2 separate regions of the Homo sapiens genome follow, and region 2 is linked to region 1. The links are contacts of gene promoters, found by promoter capture Hi-C in blood cells and fetal thymus (Javierre and others, 2016). All regions are on one chromosome and are shown on one strand. Each heading gives the region's core, a stretch centred on a gene start or on the middle of the fragment in contact. The rest is flanking DNA. Distances are from core to core; before and after follow the strand shown.

Region 1 (6,167 bases), core at 864-3,363:
TCCCCAAATTGATATTCAGCTTGAACACGATTCCTACAAAAATCCTGGCCAGGCGCGGTGGCTCACGCCTGTAATCTCAGCATTTTGGGAGGCTGAGGTGAGAGGCTCGCTTGAGCCCAGGAGTTCGAAACCAGCCTGAGCAACATAGTGAGGCCCCGTTTCTACAAAAAGTAAAAAAAAAAAAAAAAAAAAAAAAGTTAGCTGGATATGGTGGTGTGTGTAGTCATCCCGGCACTTTGAGAGGCCAAGGCAGGGGGATCGCTTGAACTCAGGAGTTCAAGACCAGCCTGGCCAACATGGTGAAACCCTGTCTCTACTAAAAATACAAAAAGTATCCGGGTGTGGTGGTGTGCGCCTGTAGTCCCAGCTACTCAGGAGGCTGAGACATGAGACTTGCTTGAACCCAGAAGCTGGAGGCTGCAGTGAGCCGAGATCATGCCACTGCACTCCAGCCTGGGTGACAGAGCAAGACTCCGTCTCAAAAAAAAAAAGAAAAAAAAAGGAAGGAAGGAAACCAAGGAAGGAAGAAGAAAGAGAGTAAGAGAGAGAGAGAGAGGAAGAAAGAGAGTGAGAGAGAGAGAAAGAAAATAGGCAAATGAAGGGCTGAGCATGGTGTCTCACATCTGTAATCCCAGCACTTTGGAAGGCAGAGGTGGAGGACCACTTGAGCCCAGACTGGAGTGCAGTGCCGCTATCTTGGCTCACTACAACTTCTGCTTCCCAGGCTCAAGCTATCCTCCCACCTCAGCCCCCAGGAGTAGTTGGGACTACAGGCACACACCACCACACCTGGCTAATTTTTGTATTTCTAGTAGAGTTAGGGCTTCACCATGTTGCCCAGGCTGGTCTGGAACTCCTGACCTCAAGACATCCTCCCACCTTGGCCTCCCAAAGTGCTGGGATTACAGGCGTGAGCCACCGCATCTGGCAAAAAAAAAAAAAAAAAAAAAATTCCCCAAAATTAGCCAAGTATGGTGGTGCCTGTAGTCCCAGCTACTCAGGATGTTGAGGCAGGAGGATCACCTGAGCCTGAGCCCAGGAGTTTGAGGCTGCAATGAGCCATGATCACGCCACTGCATTCCACCCTCGGTGACAGAGCTAGACTCCACCCCCCCCAAAAAAAAGAGAGAGAAAATAGGCAAATGACATAAACATTTTACTGAAAAGGATATGGCATAGATGACAAATGAGCACATGAAAAAAGGAACATCATTAGCCATCAGGGAACTTCACACTTATCAAAATGGCTAAAATAAAAACTTGTGACTGGGCACAGTGGCTCATGCCAGCACTTTGGGAGGCCGAGGCGAGTAAATCACCTGAGGTCAGGAGTTCCAAGACCAGCCTGGCCAACACGGCGAAACCTCGTCTCTACTAAAAATACAAAAATTAGCCGGGCGTGGTGGCAGGCGCCTGTAGTCCCGGCTACCCGGGAGGCTGAGGCAGGAGAATCGCTTGGACCTGGGAGGCAGAGGTTGCAGTGAGCTGAGATTGCACCATTGCACTCCAGCCTGGGCGACAGAGCGAGACTCCGTTCCCCGCGCCCCCCCCTCAAAAAAAGAGTAAACTGAAAGGACTGTGTTTGCAGGAATGTAAGGAAATGTCCTTGTTCTGATGCACAAGTTAATGGTTCCCTGGTGAAGGGACCTGAAAGACTGGAGAAAAACGCACTGCTTCCTCAACAGTAGGGGCAATGCCAAGTCCAGGGTTAGAGCACATTCAGCGGTGTAGTATCTGTCATGTGGCTGTCAGGCATGGCTACTGCCTGCATTGTGTGCAGACTTGGAAATGAAGTCGGCTCTCAATCAGCGAAAGACTCTACAGGCCCAACTGCCACACACATTGCAGGAAGGCCATATTTGAATCCCGCCAAAAACCTTTGCTGTGGGGTCCAATGGGCTCATACTTCCGGTCTCCCAACAGCCAATCCTAGCACTGGGCATTTGCGGGTGGCCCAGCAAGTGGCCTAGCACTTGCGGGGGCGTGGCCATGGAGACACAGTGACCAAAGGCAGAGAAGAATGCGAATGGGGGAGGGGAAGCGGAGGCTGAGGTGAGCCTAGAGCGGCGGTTAGAGCCGGTGAGGTGAAAGAGAGCGACCGTTAGGACAGGCTGAGGACTTCTGGTCTGTTCGGTACTTGAACTGCCAGCAAATTTCAACTCCCGCTTGCCATTCAACATCATGGATGATCCGAAGAGTGAACAGCAGCGCATACTGCGCCGCCACCAACGCGAGAGGCAGGAGCTGCAGGCCCAGATCCGGAGCTTAAAAAACTCGGTCCCCAAGACCGACAAGACGAAAAGAAAGCAGTTGCTCCAAGACGTGGCCCGCATGGAGGCCGAGATGGCTCAGAAGCACCGGCAGGAGCTGGAGAAGTTCCAAGACGACAGTAGCATTGAATCTGTCGTCGAAGACCTGGCCAAGATGAATCTGGAAAACCGGCCTCCCCGCTCCTCCAAAGCCCACAGAAAGAGAGAAAGAATGGAGTCCGAGGAGAGGGAGCGCCAGGAGAGCATCTTCCAGGCTGAGATGTCGGAGCACCTGGCCGGCTTCAAGCGCGAGGAGGAGGAGAAGCTCGCCGCCATCCTGGGAGCCAGGGGTCTGGAGATGAAAGCGATCCCGGCCGACGGCCACTGCATGTACCGCGCCATCCAAGACCAGCTGGTGTTCAGCGTGTCTGTGGAGATGCTGCGCTGCCGCACCGCCAGCTACATGAAGAAGCACGTCGACGAGTTCCTGCCCTTCTTCAGCAACCCCGAGACCAGCGACTCCTTCGGCTACGACGACTTCATGATCTACTGCGACAACATCGTGCGCACCACGGCATGGGGAGGCCAGCTGGAGCTGAGGGCCCTGTCGCACGTCCTGAAGACCCCCATCGAGGTGATCCAGGCCGACTCGCCCACCTTGATCATCGGGGAGGAGTACGTCAAGAAGCCGATCATCCTGGTCTACCTGCGCTATGCCTACAGCCTCGGCGAGCACTACAACTCCGTGACACCGCTCGAGGCCGGCGCCGCCGGGGGCGTGCTCCCGCGTCTCCTGTAGGCCCCAAGGCGCTGAGCAGCCCCGGGAAACTGTCGCCGTCGCCGCATCTCCTCAGTAGGCTCAGTTTATTTTCCCCTTTTGCTTTTCTCTGTTTTTCTTTTCCTTCCTTTTAATCAAAACTACCCGCCCCCGCCCCGCCCCCGCTTTCCTAACCTTGCTGCTTTCACAGGGTGGGAAACGAAATTCGAGGGAAATTCCCCGGAAATATGAGGGAAATCTCTGCATTGCACCACCAGAGGGGCATAAATTTGAAAGTTCTAACCTCTTCTTGCCCTTAAGGGTCTTTTACCTCCCTCACCAACTAAGATTTGGTCATGTTGCGTATAACTTCACCACAAAAATGGAAATATTGGCCGGGCGCGGTGGCTCACGCCTGTAATCCCAGCACTTTGGGAGGCCGAGGCGGGCGGATCACGAGGTCAGGAGTTCGAGACCAGCCTGGCCAACATGGTGAAACCCCACCTCTACAAAAAATACAAAAATTAGCCGGGCGTGGTGGCAGGCACCTGTAGTCCCAGATACTCGGGAGGCTAAGGCAGGAGAATCGCTTGACGGGAAGCGGAGGTTGCAGTGAGCCGAGATCGTGCCTTTGCACTCCAGCGTGGAAGACAGTGAGACTCCGTCTCAAAAAAATGAAAAATTAGCCAGGCAGGTTGGCGGGGGCCTGTAATCCTAGCTACTTGGGGTGCTGAGGCAGGAGAATCAACTGAACCCGGGAGGCGGAGGCTGCAGTGGGCCGGGATCGTACTACTGCACTCCAGCATGGAAGACAGCGAGACTCCGTCTCCAAAAAAAAAAAAAGAAAAAAAGGAAATGTTAAGTTTCATGTGTTCTGGGAAAAATAAATCTAGTAGACTAGCTCGGGGAGTCTTCAGGTTTTCCTATGAATGTCTTGGATTACTTAGACAAAATTGGAGTTTATGTGATCAAAATGCCTTGTGAAGGCCTTTTGCTGAGTTTTGGGGGGAAAGATTGCCATGGTTTGCTATTTACTTAAGCTAGACTACTCAGGAGATGTCTCAAGTTATGAACAAGAGATCCGCTAGTACTTTGTTTTGTTTTCTTTTCATCAAAACTTGTGTGGTTCCTAATTAATTTTAGTTTCTCCCATGTTTGCTAATTCTAAATAACAGCATTTGTTAAAACATGTAAGGTAAATCTGTTAAATAGATAAAGTAAATTTAGATAAACTGATAGGCTAGATAAGGTTTACTCTAAGATGTGAAAGATCTGAACTTAATTTCCTTTACTAAAGGTAGGAAGAGATAGGACTTTATTCAAATAGTTGATACGTTTCATTATCTTTACAACTGGTATAAAGAAAAAAGAGACACATTGATAGGTAATTTACTTACTCTAAGGGGTGAAGATCTGAATCGAGTAAGTTTCCTTTATTCTTAGAGATATAAAGGTGTATGAATTTATTCAAGTACTTGATTGACCTTGTTATATCATCTGGTATGAAGTGTGAAAGATATGAATGTAACAACTTTCCTTATTTCTTAGAGATACAGAAATATCTAAAAAGATTCTTTAAAATATTAAAGTTTTATTCTATTTTGTTACATCAAAAGTGAACAATATACTTTTGTTATTTGAGACTTGTTAATATCCTTGAATTTTCCAAAAGAATATAAAATGAAATGATTTACAGTCAACAACTTATGAAAATTTTAATCTTTACTTTCTGTAATTCAGTGAGATTAATTTTGGAAATTCTTTCTACATTCCAAATGCTCTAAGATAAAATATATATGTTTTTGAAAGTTTTTAAACATGTAGTTTGTTCAAAAATAAAAACCATTTAAAAAATACCTGCTTCTCTGTTTTTGTGTAGCTAACTTCATATAGAGTTTATATCCCAGGATCTACTTAAGCAAAGGAATCCTGGAGGGTTAGGGAGCATAGGCCTGTTGCGGGTGGCGGGGTGGTGGTTGCTGACTGGGGACAGGGGCAAAGACTGCTGAAGGGCTCTAGAAATGGGAAAGGTGCTCTACTTCAGTGGGCTGCATAGGGTCAGGGAAGGGGGTGACAAGCTAAAAGAAGAGGCCTGGCTAGGGTAGGGGACCTTCATGGACAAAGAGGCCCAGCTGGGTAGCGGGGGCACAGGCTAGGAAAGAAGTCCTGGCTGAGGGAGGATGCCTGCAAAGGGTCCAGGCTGGAGGCTGGGGCATGGACTGGTGAAGGGTTCCTGGTAGGAGAAGGTGGCCCAGCTGGGGCAGGCTGGAGAAGGAGAGGAAGGGGGCCTGGCTTGGGAAGGGAAGCTGTTTGGGAACTGGGCTACAGTCTGGGGAAGGGGTCCTGGCAGGGGTGGAGTTGGGTGGAGAGAAGGGCAGGAAAGGGGGCTGGGTCAAGAAAGAGTCACTGTCTATACAAGGAGGAATAGGCTGACCAGGGGGCAACTCAAAGGGACAAGATGCCTCGTAGCAACGGGTCTTTGGCTATTGAATGGGGAAATGGCTCTGGCAAACTGCCTGGCCAGGGGAATTGAAGGGAATTGGGAAATTGGGCCTGGATAGGGAAGGGAGCCTCACTGGGGAGGGCACACAGGCTGAAGAAGTGCCATATGGTGTGGAGGGGTCATTGAAGAAGGAAGCCTGGCTGGGATGGGGGGAGGGGGGACCTGGCTGCAAGGGTGGGGGAATGCTGGCTGGGAAAGGTGGCCCGGCTGATGATGCAGGCTTAGGTGACCAAAGGGGCCAAGCATGGGAGTGGCCTTGGCAGGGCAAGGAGGAAGATCTTGGGGAAGAGGTAACAGGCTAGGGAGGCACTGGCAGAGGAAGGGGACAAGGCTGGGCAAGGGAACCTGGCTGTGGACTGGGACACGGGGTGGGGAAGGAAGCCTGGCTGGGAGGGACATAATAGGGTGAGCGGGGGTGGGGGGAGCAGGTTAGGGAAGAACTGGCTGGTCAAGGGAAGGAGGCCCAGTTGAGTTAGGAGCCAAAGGATGAGAAAGGTGTTCCTAGCTGTTAATGAGAGGAAAGGCTGGGGAAGAACGCCTGGCCGGCGGAGGGGACATGGGCTGTCCAGTGGAGTCCAGGCTGGAGAAGGCACTGGACCAGGGAAGGAGATCTAGCAGGAAAGTAAGCATAAGCTGGGGAGGAGGACATAGACTCGGG
Region 2 (6,520 bases), core at 920-3,419, 440 kb before region 1:
CCTCCCATCTAAAGTGGTACGCTTGATAGAGACATCATATTCATGATAATAGTGTAATGTTAGGACTGATACTTAAAAAAAAAAAAAAAGATGTGCATTGTAAAGTTGCCCTGAGCCTTAAAATGTCTTACTAGCACACTCCAATTTATATAACAGCTTATCAAAGAAGAGAATCAGCAGACATGCTTCTCATACTTGAAACTTTAAACATTGTAGCTAAACGATAATTAACTAGGATTCTGACTCCTTTATTTATCTACTGCCACTCCCCCCACACCCCAATGCCCAGCAGAAGTATTTAGCAGCTGAACATTGATATTCTGTGAAAAGATGAAAGAATTAAACTTCTTTAATCAAATGTTGGCCAATACTTTTTGGCATTCAGGATGGACAGAGCCATTTTTATAGACTGAGGATTAGCAGAACAGCTGTACTGTAAGGTTTCTGTGATGGCATGAAACTCTTACAGGTGTATAATGGCATTTAGTTACCTACCCTTTGTGTGGCACTAAAATAGTTCTGTCTAGATTTAAACACAGCTTCCTATCTTCTGTCTTTTATTCTTTCTGTTTTAATATTTTTGAGCAATAGAAGCAAGGATACTAGCTCTTTACATTTGTTGACATCAATTGGAATCAGTTTCCTAGAGTTATGAAGGGCTTATATGAGTCCATTTCGTTTGATTCCCTTGGGAAACATAGGCCCTAAAGGGAAAGTGACTTGCCCAAGGTCACATAACTAGAGTCAAAACTGGGATGATAGTTGCTCTAACTCCTAGTTGGGTGCCCATTCCCCCAACTACCTCCTGGGACCTTTTGCGAGGGAGCAAGATGGAGCTCCACATTAGAACTTTTGCAAAGTAGAGGGCTCAGCTCTGCATCATTTTGTTCTACTCTGCCTGTATTTTGACCACAGTAAGTTTAACCGTGTGTTCCTTATTCTTCCTGAACTTCACTTTCAGATTTGGAGTATACTTTGAAGGAATTTTAGCCCAAATTCAACTTGTTTATTTTAAGTTGTTCAACTTAAGTTTATCTTATCTTGTATATTAGTTTTAGTATACAAAAATAACTTTTTAAAAAAGTTGATTGGGTATTAAATTAATACTGCTACAAGCTTGGTTAAAATTTCTAGTGCCCTGGTGCACCCTCTGCTGGCTTTACAGTGACATTTAATTTTCAGTATCTGCTGACACTCAGAATTCTACATTGTGCTGACAGATTCTGATTCAGTAAATAAGGAAGTAAACAGCCTTGTGGGATTTGGCCACGTAGGTCATATTTTTATATTTTAGTTTTTAAACACAAACAACTGCTGTTACAGCAAATCTTGGATGGAGAGGAAGAAAGATAAAAATATACACCCTTCAACGGGCAGTACATTCAGGTTTCTTACCAGTTTATCTGTAAGGAGTGAAGGCAAGCTGATGAGAGTAAACTGCAGGAAGCTCTCATGAGACCAAGTGGGCAGAACAGTCAGAGACACTTCATGCAGGTAGGCAAAAGTAAACCTATCCATACTTATGAGATGATGGGCTCTGGGCTCTCAGTTATGACTCAAGAAAGGGACCTGGAAATCACTGTAGATGTATGTATATCATCTGTCAATTTAAAAACTTTTTAAGCAGGGCACACAAGGAAGTTAGGGCAGGTAGGATACAGAGCAGAGAGATCAGCACAGTTCTCCATGTGAAATGTTAGAAAAGTCTCCCTGGTGGGGACACACTTGCTGATGATGAAGTGAGAGAGTCACATCAGACCTTCCGTAATCAATCATCTCCTTCAGCTGGAGCAACCAAGTAGCTGAGATTTGTCTGGATAGTTGGTGGAGATTATCTCAAGAGCAAGGGATATCTCATTTGTGTCTGAATTAGGACAATATACAGTAATATGATCGTCAGAGTAAAAAACTAAAAATCACTGTTGATCATTCTGTGGAGATGTTGCGCCGGTTGTGATTGTGGTCCTCAAAGGCCAAGAATGTAGTGGGTATCATCAGGAAGGGTGTCAAAAACAACAAAACAAACCACTTACAAAACACTTATTTTTTCCATGTACAAGATCAAAAGCAGATTGGCTTCTACAATCAGACAGGAAATTCTGGTGGCTGCTCCTCAAGAAAAGCCTAACAGCTGATAAAAGTCCTCAAAAACCCCATTAAATTGATCAAAAGGATGAAGGGATTTTCTAGTTGGTTTTTCAGTCTGGATAGAAAGAGGTTGAAGGAGGAATATGATCAAAGTCTACCAAACCATGAGCGAGATGAATATGATTAATATATTGGTGTAACGTAACAATCCAGTTCAATAAATAGAAAGCCTGCTGTGCCAGACACAATGTTAAGTATTAGACACCTTTTAATGTTTGAAAAATTATTTTCAAGAGGAGGCAAATAAAGGTAGTATCTTATTCAACTCATTGTCTCAAGTAATAGTCAAAATTATGGGTAGATCAATACAGATTTACTTAGAACTGTTAGGGCTATTTGGAGTATGTTCCTAATTATTTGAAGTGATGTCATAGATGTCAACCTTAAAGTTCTACAAAACATTGCTTGACATAACTAGATAGACCATTAGTGTATCCAGAGTTGACATTACCTGTGTTAAGGCTCTTCGATCAAGAACATAACTAGGAATCATTCGAGGTGATTCAAGGTGAGCACAATGAATAAATCCAAGGATTTTTTTTTTTAGGGAGGTGGGATCTAGATAAAATACCTTTACTGTGGGTTTGAATACAGAACTTTTGATCAACTTGCTTCATTATTCCCATCGCATTTTCTCTCTCACTAACTCTGCTGCAACCCACCCATCATATCCTGTCTTAGAATCATTCTTTAGTTGTTATTGCTGTTGTTTTCAAATACATTTTATGTCTTTACATTAGAGCTCCTTAGAAATCTGCCTTCATTTTTGTCTTTCTCCATAATGCCTGACACAGTGCTAGTTACAGTTACTGTACTCAAATACTTGTTGAGTTGAATATTATTTTGGGACTTTGGAGGTGTTTATGTGAAACAAAGACATTTTCTCTTTCTATAACAGGCCTGTTTTCCTCAGGTCTTGCTAAGCCTGTGACCTGTCAGCTATGCTTAGGTGAGTAAATAGTTCCACTGGAAATGTTTCACTGATTTCTAGAATAATTAGAAAGTGAAATGGAGAAGAGCCTTAACCACGTGGTCAGTCTCCCAGTTTCACACCTTCTCTCTAAAATGGTGCAAAAAGCTTCCTGTAATATATTGTTTGATGTTTTGTTTTATTTGCTTTTAGGTCTCATGTCTTTCTTTCTATCTTAGATCTTGTGAAAAAATAATCTGTAATTTATCTGTAACTACCTTATAGAGAAGATCTCTTTAAAGTAAAGAACCTCTGAAGCCATTTAATTCCCAAGAACATTACCAAGAGAAACCACCTTGCCTGTAGAGGACCATTTTATCTAACTCCTCTGTAAATACTCAGGACTTAGCTTTTCATTTCATTTCTTTCTTTTATTAAAAATCTTTTCTATTGAAGTATAACTCATACACAGAAAAGTATATAAATCATATTTGTACAATTTGATGAATCATTACAAAGTGAATATACTCACGTCACCAGCACCCAGGTCAAGAAATAGAACATTATTATATGCCACAACTCCTCCTTACACCCTATTGTTATCACTATATCCTCCTCACTCTCTCAAGTTCTGACATCATAGATTAGTTTTTTTATCTTTCTCCATAGTGCCTGACATAGTGCTAGTTGGATTAGTTTATTAGTTTTGTTCATTTTGAACTTTATATAAATGAAATCAAACAGTGTGTATTCTTTTGGATCTGGTGTTTTTTGCTCAATACTGTTTTCGTGACATCCATTCAGGTTGTTGCTTGTGGCTGTAGTTTTTTATTTGTATTTTTTGTGTGTGTGAGACAGAGTCTTGCTCTGTCACCCAGGTTGGAGTGCAGTGGCATGATCACAGCTCACTGCAGCCATAACCTCCCAGGAACAAGCGATCTTCCAACCTCAGCTTTTTGAGTAGCTGGGACCACAGGCACATGCCACCATGCCTCATTTTTAATTTTTTATAGGCTCATTTTTAATTTTTTTATAGAGACAGGATCTCTCTATGTTGCCCAGACTGGTCTTGAACTCCTGGCCTGAAGCAATACTCCCACCTCAGTGTACCAAAGTGATGGGATTACAGATGTGAACCACCATGCCCAGCCATTTATTTGTATTTTTGTATATTATTTCGTTGCTCGAATATACCACAGTCTATTTACTCTATTTTTAATGAATTTGTGGATTGTTTCCAGTCTGGGGCTATTACGGATGCTGATGTTGTGAATATTATTATACATGTCTTTTGGTTACATATGCTTGAATTTCTATTGCTTGTATAGATCAGAGTTGCTGGGTCATGGAGGATGCATATTTTTGACATTATTGATAATGACAGTTTTTCTAAGTCATTGTATCAATTTACATGCTCACCAGCAATGTATGAGAATTTCAGCTGTTTCACATTCTTACTAACACTTGGTATTGCCAGTCTTTTTAGCCATAGCTGTTCTGGTGGGTGGCTTTGTAGTAATATCCGTTGATTTTAATTGGCATTTCTCAGAAGACTGATGAGGTTGTGCTCTTTTTCATGTTTATTATGCATTTGCATATCTTCTGTGAAATGCCTATACAAGTTTTTTGCCCATTTTTCTATTAGTCTGTCTTTTTCTTATAGATTTGTAGGAATTCTTTATATACTCTGAATATGAACTATTTTTGTATTTTTTATGTTGTAAGCCATTCCCAAATCTGTGATTTACCTTTCTTTATGGTATCCTTTGATGAACAGAAGTTTTTAATTTTAATGTGTTTAATTTTTTAGTATTTTCCTTTATGGATAGTGTTTTCTGTGTCCCATTTAAGAAATATTTTCTTACCTTGAAATTGTAGATATTCTCCCATATTATCTTCTAGAAGCTTTATGTTTTTGACATTTACATTTAGGTCTATACTCCACTTGAAATCGATTTTTGTGTATGCTAAGATACAGAAACTAAGCTTCATTTTTTAAAATATAGATATCCAACTGATCCAGTACCATTAATTATAAGGACTGTCTTTCCCCCAGTCCTCTATAGCATCACCTTTGTCATAAATCAGGTGCCTGTATATATGCAAGATTGTTTCTGAACTGTTTATTCTATTCTGTTGGTCTCTTTGTCATTACATCACTACCACAATCTTAATTACTGGACTTTATTATTACCTGGTAAAGCAACTCCTTTCACCTTGTTCCTCTTATTTAAAAGTATCTTGGATATTCTTGGCCCTTTGCATTTAGAATCAGCTTGTCATGTTCCACAAAAAAGAAACGTGCTGAGATTTTTATTGGGATTGCATTGCATCTAAAAATCAATTTAGAGGGAACTCACCATTTTATGGTATTCAGTTTTCCAATCCATGAACATGCCCAGCAGATTTGGTGTTTGGTGAGTGCCTTCTTCTTGATCCATAGAATGACACACTCTTGCTGTATCCTCACGTGGTGGAAGGGATAAATGCACTTCCTTGGACCTATTTTATAAGGACATTAATCTCATTTACAAGGGCTCTGCCCTCATTATTTAATTGCCCCCTAAAAGCCTCATCAAATACCATCACATTGGTGATGATATTTCAACATATGAATTTTGGGGGGAACACAAACATTCAGACCATAGCAAACCTATTTTAGACATTTTCTCAGCATCCTTTATGTCTGTTACATACTTTTCTCTGTATTCTATCCTTCTTTTTCTCTCTATACTTCATTCTAGGTATTTTCTTTTTTTTCTTTTTTTTTTTTTGAGACAGTTGCATCTACATACTTTATTTTCAAAAAATCTTCACAGGAACAATGCAAGGTAGATATTGCCGTGTCTCTATTTTTACATGTGGAGAAGCAGACCCAGAGGGGTTAAATAACTGTCTGCAATCATATAGCTATTTCTGGAACTGTGTTTTAAATAGGAATTTTATAAACCATATATAGAACTTGTATCAACTGGACCATTTAAAATGTGCATGGAGAAGTTTCTATTTAAAGGACTCCCATGAAAGGTAGATTAATTCAATAAGTAGTATTGGGATTTACTGACTTGCCATTTTGGGGGTTTAAAAAAAAAGACAAGTAAAACTGGATCCTTATCTCACCTCTTATACCAAAATAAATTCCAGATGGAACAAAGATTTACATGTAAAACATGAAGTCACAGACATCCTAGAAGAACACATGGATGCATATTTTTAGAATCTTACATTCTGGATATTTTCCTGTGACTTAACTTCCAATTCATTAATTCTGTCTTCAGCTTTGTCTAAACTCCCTTTAAACTCACTCATTGAGTTCTTAATATTATTTGTCATGTTTTTTATTTTTAGAATTTTCATTTGGTTCTTTTTATAAGATAGTGTTTGGTTCTCAGCCAAACTCTGCCAAAATATCTTTTAACATACTGGCCATAATTATTTGAAAATCTTCATTTGATTACTCAT

What was found. Contacts are between HindIII fragments. The CHiCAGO score rates a contact against its expected background, and 5 or more counts as called.
Region 2: a contact is called between a fragment that was not itself captured here and the fragment with the promoter of OTUD6A in region 1, in 1 of 17 cell types (M2 macrophages). The highest score is 5.0, in M2 macrophages.

Annotation. Positions count from the first base shown.
Region 1 is chrX:70,060,344-70,066,510 of GRCh38, forward strand. It overlaps OTUD6A (OTU deubiquitinase 6A), which reads left to right and starts at 2,114. Exons shown (of 1, transcript NM_207320.3): 1 at 2,114-3,836. The coding sequence starts at 2,182. The coding sequence ends at 3,048. The HindIII fragment of the contact is 21,287 bases long and covers 1-6,167 here.
Region 2 is chrX:69,617,850-69,624,369 of GRCh38, forward strand. All of the region lies in intron 1 of EDA (ectodysplasin A), which reads left to right. Among named protein-coding and RNA genes, the nearest start is that of EDA, 5.0 kb to the left of the region's middle. The HindIII fragment of the contact is 2,110 bases long and covers 1,115-3,224 here.